Regions from separate parts of the Homo sapiens genome. Here region 1 is linked to region 2. The links are contacts of gene promoters, found by promoter capture Hi-C in human tissues and cell types (Jung and others, 2019). All regions are on one chromosome and are shown on one strand. The core of a region is centred on a gene start or on the middle of the fragment in contact, and the rest is flanking DNA. Distances in the headings are between cores, read along the strand shown.

Region 1 (6,381 bases), core at 3,334-5,833, 230 kb before region 2:
TGATCTCATTCTCTTCGTATCATGCAGGTTTTTGTCTGTGCTCCCTCCCCGTTGGTCAACCTCAGTTGGAAGCTTGAGGGTACTGCCTCTATATTCTTCCTACTCTTGGACTCTAGGACTGCAAACAGGTAGAGAGTGGCCCTGGAGGAGAAAAAGGAAGACATCCAACATAAAAGGGCAGATGAAAAGGTATTAATCATAGCTTCAGAGGATAGGTTGTAATTCATTCTTTAAAAATAAGTTACTGGCTTTGAGACAGTAGTTAAGAAACAAGACATTCTGAAGTATAAGATTCTGGAATTTGTTCTACAATCAACCTTTTTCTGTTTTGCCTCTTGACTTGAACAAATATTGGATCATGACTGATGGTACAAACTTTAGTATTTGCTTTTCATCCATGTAAATAATTTCTCTTTATTTTCCCTGTTCATATCCAAATGGTTTCAGCTACACACTTGGTAGTAAGGTATGATATGCCAAAACTGTCTTGGCTGAGCACTGTGGCTCACTCCTGTAGTCCCAACACTTTGAGAGGCTGAACCAAGTGGATCCTTGGGGGCCAGGAGTTTCAGACCAGCCTGGCCAACATGTTGAAACCCTGTCTCTACTAAAAATACAAAAATTTGCCAGGCGTGGTGGTGCATGCTTATAATCCAGCTACGTGGGATACTGATGCACAAGAATCGCTTGAACCTGGGAGGCACAGGTTGCAGTGAGCCGAGATTGCACCGCTGCACTCCAGCCTGGACAACAGAGTGAGATTCCATCTCAAAACCAAACAAACAAACAAAAAAAAACCCAACTGTCTAATATTGCTGTTTTTGTCAGAGAACTATTTTGTTTTTACAACTGGGCAGATGCCTAAGCACACAACAACAGTATTGCAGGCAAAGAGAGAAAACAGTACACAGTACTACATGGAGAAACACAGGAAGGGTGTGTTTTGTTACATATACAATCATTACTTGCAGTTATTTGTTTATACCCTAAGTCGCCTACTGCATATGTAAATTTATGTTTCCAGATGTAATTCATTTGGTCTGCAGGACAAATACATCATTTTTGAGTCTTACATCTCTAAACTCTGTGCTTAACAATATAGATTGTTTGGGATCTATACACAAATCCTATACAGTCTCAGTAGATACCTAATTTTGAGACAGTCATCTTATCCCCTCCCCACCCCTGCAGTTCTCCATTAAAGCCCCATCACATTAAGAAAGATAAATCTCATAAGAGTGTGTACAGGAGGTCTTAAAAAGTCCCTCTTTAAGAACTTTCCTATTTCTCTTCAATACGTCAAACTTCTATTTCCAGTGGTCAGTTAGACATCTCCAGCTAGACAGATGCTATATTTTGGATGCATTTCAAATGCAACACAGCTCATTTGGAACTCATTGTATTTTCCCGACTTGCCTCCTCTACAAGTTCAGAGCATCACCATCTGCTCGAGCCATCAATTTAAATCTCCTAAGCTAGAAACTTGGGAACTGTTCTCAACATTCCATTTTCCTCATCCTTTATATCCACAATCCTACAAGTTTTATAGGCTCAATTTTCTAGAATACTCTGGAATACATCCTCTCCTCTCCTACTTACCGCCACTAATTTCACCAAAACTGACACAATTGCCTCCTCTGTAAACTTTCTGACAATAAGTTCTCCCCTCATGTCCCTCTTCCTTACTTTTTCCCTAAGGCATCTGTCCAGATTCCTTTTGCTATTATTTCAAATGCATATTTAATTACATCCATCTACTCCTTAAAAATCTTAGTTTTTCCCTGGGGCCCACAAAAATCATCTGCTTTGAATGTTAATTTTCACACACTGCCCTTTTCTATTTAGTCAACCATTCTCTGATTTGCAGTCTCTTCTGACCTGTAAAAAATGCACACTTTTTTGTCTTTGTTTAAGCACTCTTTCCTCTTTGGGCATACTCTGTTTATCTAAATCTTCTCCATAACAGCAGTACTAAAATAATTTATTGTGTACTACTAAGGGATAGTATGCAAACCACTTTACAATCATTAGGTTATTTCAAGCACCATTTTACATTGAGGAAATTGAGGATGTTATTTGTACAAGATCACATTTTTAAGCAAGCAGTAAAACTGGGATTATAATTCCGGTCTATCTCAATCCATGAACTGAACATTTAAATGCTGCCTCCTACTACAATGTATCACATAACTCGTGTCAAGTTGTACAGTTATTTTTAAGCTTCCAGATCATTCTAGTTCCCCTTTTCTTAATCATTCTAGTTCTCCTCTCATCTGTAATCATGGTTTGCGCCAACATCAGTGTTTAGTACTAAGTTATTCTTTAATATTTTATTTTTGTTAAATCTTATCTCAACTAGATTGTAATTTGTTTTGTGAGAGGTAACTAAAAAAAAAATCCTAACGTAACTCCACAAAGCCATAGTATAACGTTATAATAGTAAATAGCATAACCTTATAATAAATAGTTTCGCCTTATTGAGGTAGGTAGTAAGTGTGCTTTAGGTAGATTTGGTTGGTGCAAATGTAATTGTGGTTTTTGCCACCGAAAGAAATGGCAAAACCCCAATGACTTTTGCACCAACCTAAATATCATCTCATTTACATATGTAATAAATACTCAATATTTGCTTTAATTAAAATAGGGGTAGACAAGTGAATTATATTTAGAGGTTCTAGGTGACTGAAATTTTCACAGGGGCAGAAACCCAAAATATGTATGTGCAGTTAATTTTTTCTGTCTCTTCTGTGTTGGGCCATCTTTTTTTTCTCTTTTTTTTTGAGATGGAGTCTCACTCTATCGCCCAGGCTGTAGTGCAGTGGCGTGATCTCAGCTCACTGCAGCCTCCGCCTCCCGGGTTCAAGCAATTCTCCTGCCTCAGCCTCCCGAGTAGCTGGGACTACAGGCAACTGCCACCATGCTCAGCTAGTTTTTTAATATTTTTAGTAGAGATGGGGTTTCACCATGTTGGCCAGGCTGGTCTGGAACTCCTGACCTCAAGTGATCCGCCCACCTCGGCCTCCCAAAGCGCTGAGATTACAGGCCTGAGCCACTGCGCCCGGCCTTTCTCTTCTTTTTCATGATATACTACTGGATTTGTCTGTGCTTGTAATTATTTTAGCTGTTTATTAGTTTATTACAAAAAAATGGTACTGTACCTTTATGGGAATAATTAGCACCTATGTGAATATTTAAGTTACCGATTTTGGCAAATGTGAAGTCCAAGTTGTCTTGTTTTGTTTACGTTTATATCCTCTCTCCCTTCTTGAGAAGACATATTTTCATTTAAAATAAACCCACTTGGCCGGGCGCGGTGGCTCACGCCTGTAATCCCAGCACTTTGGAAGGCCGAGGCGGGTGGATCACGAGGTCAGGAGATCGAGACTATTAGCCGGGCGCGGTGGCGGGCGCCTGTAGTCCCAGCTACCCCAGGGAGGCTGAGGCAGGAGAATGGCGTGAACCCGGGAGGCGGAGCTTGCAGTGAGCCGAGATCGCGCCACTGCACTCCAGCCTGGGCGACAGAGAGAGATTCCGTCTCTAAATACATACATACATACATACATACATACATAATAAATAAAATAAAATAAACCCACTCACCCCCACCCCGACTCCCCAGCTGTAGCAGGGAAGGATTAAGAAGGCGGGGTGGGGGGTGGGGGAAGCCCTGTTAGGTAGTGCTGCGTTGGGCCCACTTCTGAGGGTTTAATCCTAGTAGGGTCTTTGGAGTTCTTTCTTCGGAGGCGCGTAGCTCTGCATTATTTAAAACTGTTTCCCGCAAACCCGCAATCCCTTAGGCCAAAGGCACCCCTAACGCGGAAAGTCTACGAACGGAAATGTCCGGAGTTAGAGAGCGGCCTTTCGGGCAGCTGCCCCGACTTCTCCAAGGCCGGAGGGCCGGCTGGGAGCGCTGCAAGCCAGAGAGGGCGATCCCAGCGGGACCCGCGGCCTGAGGATAGGCCTGGAGCTGCCGCCTCCGCCAGGCGACGGGAAACCCTCGGAAGTGGGTTTCCGCGCGAAAGTAGCATTGCGGCCAGGCGGGAAACGTGTTCGCGAAGCAGGAGGGCCCCCGGGGCCTTTCCCGGGCGACCCGACCCGCCAGGCCGCGTGGCGGGAGCTTTCCTGTTGAGCGCGGTGGAGCGCACACATTTCCTTCAGTTCTTTCTCGGAAGTTTAGGCCGCACCCACCCGCGCCCCCTTTCCAGGATTATACAAGTGCACGCCAGGGTTTCTTATTTTTGGTGTGTTTTTGAGACCAAAGAACCATATCCGCTAAGCCTGAGGAGGCACCCGCCCCCTCAGCTCTGAAACGAGGCCTCAAAACGGCAACCGATGTGGTAGCCGCGCAATCTTCCGAAACCCAAAGGCTAGAGGGCGTGCCCAGTGGCCAGGTGCAGGCGGTGGGGCAAGTAACGGCTTTTGGTAGCCCCGCCCCTCCGACCCGCCCTCTCCGCGCCTGCCCATTTTCGTTCCCTCGGGTCTGTAACCCTCTCCCGGGCCGCTTCCTCTTTAAGGCGGAGCCCGGCGTGGATCTCGCGAGATCCGGCTTGGCGCCGTGACCTCCATGTGGGAGCTCCAGCTCTATAAGTAAACACTCTGCGCGGCGCAGACATGGCCTCTTCCTATCTTTGAGGCGGTGTCTGCGGCAGCGCCTCAGAGTGGTTCCGGTCGTCTCTCCTCAAGTCGGCTAGTCGGGCGCGCGCGCTGAGAGTCGTCGCCGCCTGTCGGGCCCGGCGTCCGGTCGGTCCGGTGGGCGCGCTCGCCCGCCTGCCGCTGAGGGCCCGAGCCGCAGGGAAAGCGGCGCGGGCCGGGCGGGGCGCGGCGCCCAGAGCTCAGGGGGAGACAAAGGGGACCGGTTCCTCTCTAGGCGCCAAGATGTGGATACAGGTTCGCACCATTGATGGCTCCAAGACGTGCACCATTGAGGACGTGTCTCGCAAAGCCACGATTGAGGAGCTGCGCGAGCGGGTGTGGGCGCTGTTCGACGTGCGGCCCGAATGCCAGCGCCTCTTCTACCGGGGCAAGCAGGTGAGGCGCGCCCGCCGCGCCCCTAGCGAGGCTGGGGGCCGGAACAGCTGGGCTCCTCTGGACGCACCGGTCCGAGGGCTCTGTGCGCCGCGCGCGCAGGGCTCACCTGGCTCCGCTGCGGGTGGGCAGCCCCCGCGAGGCGCGGGGTGCGGGGCCCAGTCCCGCCGAATGGTGGGGAGTGGGTCCCTGCCAGCCCCAACTGGAGGTGCGCCGCGCGGGGTCAGAAGTGAGGGCGTCCGGAGCGCAAATATCTCGCCGTTTGTATTTGGTAGGACAGCGGCCGTAGGCACTGGGTGCCCAGGTCCCTCGCTTCCCGCGCTCGGCGGGGCCTGGGGCCCCCAGAGGGCGGGGAGGGCAGAGGGCTCTGGCGGCCATGCCACCGCGCGGGAGACCCGGAGAGCTGGCTAACCCGGCTGAGCGTTCGCCTGGCTTCCGCGGCTCTTCCGCGTCTTCGGCTCTCAAACAGGGGAAACTCGGGCATTGAGCTCTCAAGAATAAGAACCCTAACTCTGCTTCCTGACTGTGGTAGGATTCGCGCAAACTGAAGATTCGAAGGGTTTCCAGAACTTCTGGTCCCTCTCCCTCGCCGCCTTTCCTAGGTTTGGAATGTCTCGAGGGAGGTTAGAGACCTGGGCATGAAGAAACTGTCGGTTTAACCGGGGGCCGGGTTTACGAATGCCCTATATAAGCCAAGAGTTTTATTCCCGAAGTGAAAAGGAGTGTAAGACTGTTTGCTTTTCTTACTTCTCGCCTTCTAATACTCATGTCGTTCACGCTTTAAGCATAGCACTGCAGCATAGCCAGCGGTGCATACTTGAAGGCTGTCTGTGGGCATCTCTGGTATTTTTATGGTCTGGCCAGTCTAAGTTTTTTTCCTATTCCACAAGTCTCTTACAATCTATATCCCTAGCCACTCAGACCCATCGTATTTTTCTTTGTCTTCATGTTGTTGTTAATACACTAAAAAGTTGGCATCCTGAGTTGATAGACCACAGTTTGGCTCCAATCCTGTGGTTTTAAATAAGTGTAGCTCTTTGATTTGGTAGAAGTAGCCTACAGTTGCAAACTACTTAAAAGGAATATTTTCCTCCCCTTCACAGGCTTAGTCTTCGAAGACTGTCCAGAAATTTCATAGTAACAAATTACACTTTGGGAAGGAGAGAGCTTTTTTTTCCCCTTTCCTTCTCTCTTTAAAATAATGTTATAGCACCTTTGATTTGTGTTTGCAGCCAGTTTTGTACTGACTTCTTAGTGTTTGACTTGTAAAAACAGGTATTTAGTTGTAAGCTTTGCTTTTGAAATAATTGTACACTTGTTAAATACTACATAGATTTGCTTTGCTGTGCCTCAAGT
Region 2 (5,674 bases), core at 1-2,500:
CCGCCACTGTTTTATTTTAATCCACACATTCCCAGTCCTGAGCAATCCTTACCCCAGAGCTCGATTTTCAGGGAACCACAAAAGACAAATAGGCCAGAATAATCTAAGTCCAAGGGAGCCCTCCCGGCCACTTACAAACAGGGTCTTCCATTTTCAAGGGTCTTTTCAAACGGATGTTGGCAGGGACCGTCTTCTCGATCAATTCATCAATGCTCTAAAATTAAAACGCAAGGCAGAGGAAAGTGCCTCTGAGTTAAAAGAGTCACCTCTGTGTTTTGCGACTACAAAGCCTTGTGGGAACCTCATTGAAATCGCCTAATTAGGGTTCTTTTTAAAAGAAAAGGAAAACTCTGAGCAAGCCAGAATGATTTGGAGGAAAGAAAATCGTGAAGTGGGGTGGAGATTCCGCCACTCGGGGTTGGATTTCAGTTGCAACCGGAGCTAACCGGTAAGCCCACTCTTAATCAGGGGGTCTTCCTCCTCTTGCAAAGTTTAGGTCCATCCACAGGGCCACTTGGGCTGGGGGTGGTTTAAAAATGTACACTTTTGAGGCACGAAGACTGGGTGCAGGAGAAAGTAAGCTGTTAAGAAGTAAGAAGGCACGAGGACCAAAGGCACGAATTTGCTTCCACGCCACGGCCCGGGACCCAGGGTGCGGGGACCACGCGGAGCGCAGCAGAGCTCAGGGTAGGAGCCGGGAGGCCGCGCAGGCAGAGCCCGGGCAGGGCGGAGGGGAGGCCGCGGAGGGCCGGGTGGAGGTCCTTACCGCCAGCCCCAAGGTCTGCAGCATCTCTCTCTGGTCTTTGTCCCCAGGGCCGATGTGCCTCCGAGCGAAGTCGTCGTGTCTGGGCAGAAGGCGCTCCAGGAGGCGCGAGGCCCCAGCCGCGGCGCTGTCCCCGCCGCCACTGCTGCTGTCCCGGCTCCGCGGCGCCCAGCACGGCCCCGATCCCCCAGCCAGGCGGCGGCCGCCCCCGACCCCGCGGCCCAGGCGCAGCCCCCACGCCCTGGCACAGGACTGCATGGCCGCGGCCACCGTCCCCTGCCCCGGCCCGCAAGGGTCAGCCGCGCTCTTGGCCCCTCTCCTGGCCTCGGTCCCCCGGGTGGCGGCTGCGCCCGGCCTGGAGCCCCTTTCGCTGGACAGTCGGCCGGACAGATGGATGGACGCTCGCGGGCAATGAATGGGCGCTGCGCTCAACCAAGACACTCGCGCAAAGTTGTGGCTCCACCCAAGGCACCTGCTCCGCACACTTTAAGCGGCGCCCTGGAGGCGGGAGGTGGGTTGGGGCCAGGAAGCCCTTGGCCAATGAAAGTAGACAGAGGGGGAGGGGGCGGAACAGTTCCCGCCCCCGCCCCCTCTTCCTACCCTCTTCCCAGCCCTTCCGTGGAGTCCCGCTTCCCCTGGACCGGAGGCTGCCATCTCCAGTCCTACCCACTCCGACGCTGGCTGGTGCCGGGGGCCGGGACGCTCCGTACGCCGCCCGCCAGGGTGTGGAGCCGCACTGGGGCAAGATCAGGTGGGACAGCCCAAAGACTCCGGGCCAAGTTCCTGGGGGACTCGGCGGAGATGGAAGATGATTCTCGAAGCTCTCCATTTCCTTAATTTTGAGGTATCTTTCTCTGTCACATTTCATCTCAGGGAAATTAATATGGGCAGATGGCGGTTCTTTTATCTTTGCGGGAGCGTGATAAAGTTACTCAACCTCTCAGAGCTTCAGTTTTCTCATCTCAACAGAGCTGGATGGGATTTTAAAAAGAGATTATATGTACATGGAAAGCACTTGAACAGTAGATTTGAACACCCTCTCTATATTTCTTTTCTTTTCTTTCTTCCTTCTTTCTCCTCCTCCTCCTCCTCCTCCTTCTTCTCACTCTCTCTCTTTCTCTCTCTTCCCCCCCACCACATGTAACGCTATGGCTCACGCCTGTAATCGCAACACTTTCGGAAACCGACGCGGTAGGATAGCTTGAGCCCAGGAGTTCGAGACCAGCTTGGGCAGCATTGTGAAACCCTGTCTCTACAAAAAATACAAAAATTAGTGGGGCGTGGTTGCGTGCTTCTGAAGTCCCAGCTACTCTGGAGGCTGAGGTGGGAGGATTGCTTGAGTCAGGGAGTTTCAGGCTGCAGTGAGATGTGATCGCACCACTGCACTCCAGCGTGGGCCACAGAACGAGACTCAGGAAAAAAAAAAAAAAAAGAACTGTGTGTGTGTGTGTATATGTTTTTTTAAATATATGTACTGTATATACATATACGTGTGTGTGTAAAACTACAAAGGATATTTTGTTGTTGTTTTTGAGACGGAATCTCGCTCTGTCGCCCTGGCTGGAGTGCAGTGGCGCGATCTTGGCTCACTGCAACCTCCACCTCCCGGGTTCAAGCGATTGTCCTGCCTCAGGCTCCTGAGTAGCTGGGACTACAGGCACGTGCCACCACGGCCGGCCATTTTTTATTTTTATTTTTAGTAGAGACGGGGTTTCACCGTTTTAGGCAGGATGGTCTCGATCTCCTGACCTCGTGATCCGTCATTACAGGCGTGAGCCACTGCGCCCAGCAAAAGTACAAAGGATATTAAGATAGACATTGTTCACTGTCGTCTTACTTTGAAAGTTAGCCATCTAGAACTGGATTTTTTGTAAATGTACCATCTCCAGCTGTCTCATGACAGTTTTAGCAAGAGAATGAACTTTTAAAATTCCAGTTGTTCTAATATGGGGAAGAGAGGACAGAAGTAATCAGAACATTACTTGTACTTAGACTAGGGGAAAATAAAACCTGTTCTCTTTCTTGCTTATCTGCTAAGTTTCCTCCTCCAATCACCCTTAACAGATTCTGGGCTCCGTACCCAGGAGGCACAGACTATCCAGAGAGGCAGGAAAGTAGAGATGGAAAAGAGGGCAGGAAAATACACCACAAAGAACAGTAGGTAAAATGTCTGTATGGCAGACGGAGGCGGGTGGTGAGCTAGGACGGCTGGGCTGAATGTCTCCGAAAAGTTTTTCGGCCATTTGGAATTGAAATTACAACCTTCATAAAAGTTGGGAGATCTCCTCAGTGCCAGATGGTGGGGGTTGTGGGGAAGGATTGGAGGGAGGAGGTAATCTGCATTTATTCCTATTCCTGTCTATGTTGTTTCTATGTATCAGAGGGACTGGAAGCCAGGGAACAATAATTCCCAGATCCCTTTGGCTCCGTGGTGATGGATGTTATTTGCCTTCTGCCAAAAAAAAACATGTATATATACACACATATATGTATATGAGAATTGGGGCCGGGTGCGGTGGCTCACTCCTGTAATCCCAGCACTTTGGGAGGCCGAGGCGGGCAGGTCACTTGAGGACAGGAGTTCAAGACCAGCTTGGCCAAGATGGCGAAACTCAATCTCTACTACAAATATGAAAAAAAATTTAGCCAAGTTTGGTGGGCGTGCTTGTAGTCCTAGCTACTCAGGAGGCTAAGGCATGAGAATCACTTGAACCTGGGAAACAGAGGTTGCAGTGAGCGGAGAGCGCACCACTGCACTCCAACCTGGGTGATAGAGCAAGACTCTGCCTAAAAAAAAAAAAAGAGAGAGAGAGAGAATTGGGAAATGGAACAAAGGTAAAAACTGTTTTCTTATTTTCTGACTGCAGCAGACAGATGCATGGACCACTGCAGACATGACATGCTTCCTTACCAGCACCCCATCTTGAGGTAGCTGGGAAGCTGTATCCACCAATGGGAATGTCCTGCAGTTCCCCAGCAGGAATTTCTGTGTACTAGACTAGAGCTTCAGTGGTTGACCTGAAGATAGCGTTGGTATTCCCTGGTTTTTGCTCTTCCAGTTCTTCCAGTGGTTTTGTATGCACCCATTCCTGACATTTAATTCTCCTCTGCTTGAAATGCATTGAGTGTTTTTTGTTTATTTGTCTGTGTGATGTTGTGAAATACATATCTGGTATTCATCCCATTTCCTGGCCTGCAACTCCTAAAGTCTTGGGAATCTCCAGACTCCTGCCTTTTTGTATGCTAATGTGACTAACAGCTTCAGAATAGGGCTGGTCACTGGAAAGACAAAGACATAATGGGAGTTGAGACTTTCAGCCCCACCCTCAACTTCTCAGTAGGGCAGAGGGTCAATGATCAATGCTTAATCAATCATGCCTTCCTAATAAAGCCTCTATAAAAACCCAAGAGCCGGACGTGGTGGCTCATGCCTGTAATCCCAGCACTTTGGGAGGCCAAGGCTGGCGGATCACTTGACGTCAGGAGATTGAGACCAGCCTGGCCAACAGGGTGAAATCCCATCTCTACTAAAAATACAAAAATTGGCCGGGCGCGGTGGCTCACGCCTGTAATCCCAACACTTTGGGAGGCCAAGGTGGGCGGATCACAAGGTCAGGAGATCGAGACCATCCTGGCTAACACCGTGAAACCCCATCTCTACTAAAAATACAAAAAATTAGCCGGGCGTGGTGGCGGGCACCTGTAGTCCCAGCTACTCAAGAGGCTGAGTCAGGAGAATCACTTGAATCCGGGAGGTGGAGGTTGCAGTGAGCCAAGATCATGCCACTGCACTCCAGCCTGGGCAACAGAGGAAGACTCGGTCTCAAAAAAAAAACAAAAATAACACACACACAAAAACCCAAGAGGAGAGGTTTCAGAGAGCTTCTGGATAGCTGAATACACACAAAGTGGCACATGGGGAGAGGCCATGGAAGGTCCTCACCCCTTCTCCCATACCTACCTCGCCCTGCGCATCTCTTCATCTGTGTTACTTGTAATATCCTTTATAAAAAATCAGTAGACATAAGTGTTTCCCTGAGTTCTGTGAGCTATTCTATCAAATTAATCAAACCCAAAGAAGGGATCATGGAAACCCCAGCTTCAAGCTGATCCGTCAGAAGTTCTGGAGGCCTAGAATTGCAACTGATGTCTTGGGGACTGAGCCCTCAACCCTTGGGATCTGGCGGTATCCCTAGATAGAGTGTCAGAATTGAAGTGGAGTGCACCCAGCTGGTGTCTGCCTCAGAACCGACTGCTTGCTTGTTGGTGGGGAGAAATCCCCATATATTTCGGGATCATGGAAGTCATCTTCTTCTTTCTGTTTTTCCATTGAGACAGAGCCTTGGTCTGTTGCCCAGGCTGGAGTGTAGTGGTGCGATCTCAGCTCACTGTGACCTCGACCTCACAGTTTCAAGCAATTCTCCTGCCTCAGCCTCCAGAGTAGCAGGGACTACAGGCATATGCCACCACACGCACTAATTTTTGTGTTTTTTTTTTTTAGTAGAGATGGAGTTTCCCCATGTTGGCCAGGCTGGTCTCAAACTCCTGACCTCAAGTGATCCGCCCACCCTGGCCTCCAAAAGTGTTGGGATTACAGGCATGAGCCACCACGCCCAGCCAGATCATGGAAATCTTCTGTGTTGATTGTTGTAGTGTGGTGTGAGACCAGAGGAAGCACAGTTATAGTGCTTTTTCAAAACAGTTAGTTTTCCTGAATAAACCCAAACAAAGGCTATAATGGAAGCCAAAAGCAGATTGAGGAGGGCTTAATGTTTGGGTGAAAAAGGCAAGAGATTCCTGAGAGACACATTCACTCCCTGCCATTGTATGAGCTTTCAGGGAGTTTTTTCCTTTGCCTCCCCCTTTTCTTTTTTTTTTGAGTTTTGCTCTTGTTGCCCAGGCTGGAGTGCA

Evidence for each region. The method cuts DNA at HindIII sites, captures the fragments that hold promoters and counts their contacts. A contact is called where the count stands out against the background at its distance.
Region 1: a contact is called between the fragment with the promoter of UHRF2 here and the fragment with the promoter of GLDC in region 2, in 2 of the 25 tissues and cell types used here (adrenal gland and heart right ventricle).

Annotation. Positions count from the first base shown.
Region 1 is chr9:6,408,616-6,414,996 of GRCh38, forward strand. It overlaps UHRF2 (ubiquitin like with PHD and ring finger domains 2), which reads left to right and starts at 4,584. Exons shown (of 16, transcript NM_152896.3): 1 at 4,584-5,028. The coding sequence starts at 4,876. RefSeq lists silencers at 4,302-4,441, 4,722-4,901, 4,972-5,401. The HindIII fragment of the contact is 6,487 bases long and covers 1,147-6,381 here.
Region 2 is chr9:6,644,479-6,650,152 of GRCh38, forward strand. It overlaps GLDC (glycine decarboxylase), which reads right to left and starts at 1,251. Exons shown (of 25, transcript NM_000170.3): 1 at 767-1,251; 2 at 136-214. The coding sequence starts at 1,021. RefSeq lists enhancers at 461-1,018, 1,999-2,108, 2,159-2,258, 3,245-3,800, 3,801-4,356 and silencers at 699-768, 809-1,008, 1,079-1,328. The HindIII fragment of the contact is 11,104 bases long and covers 1-5,674 here.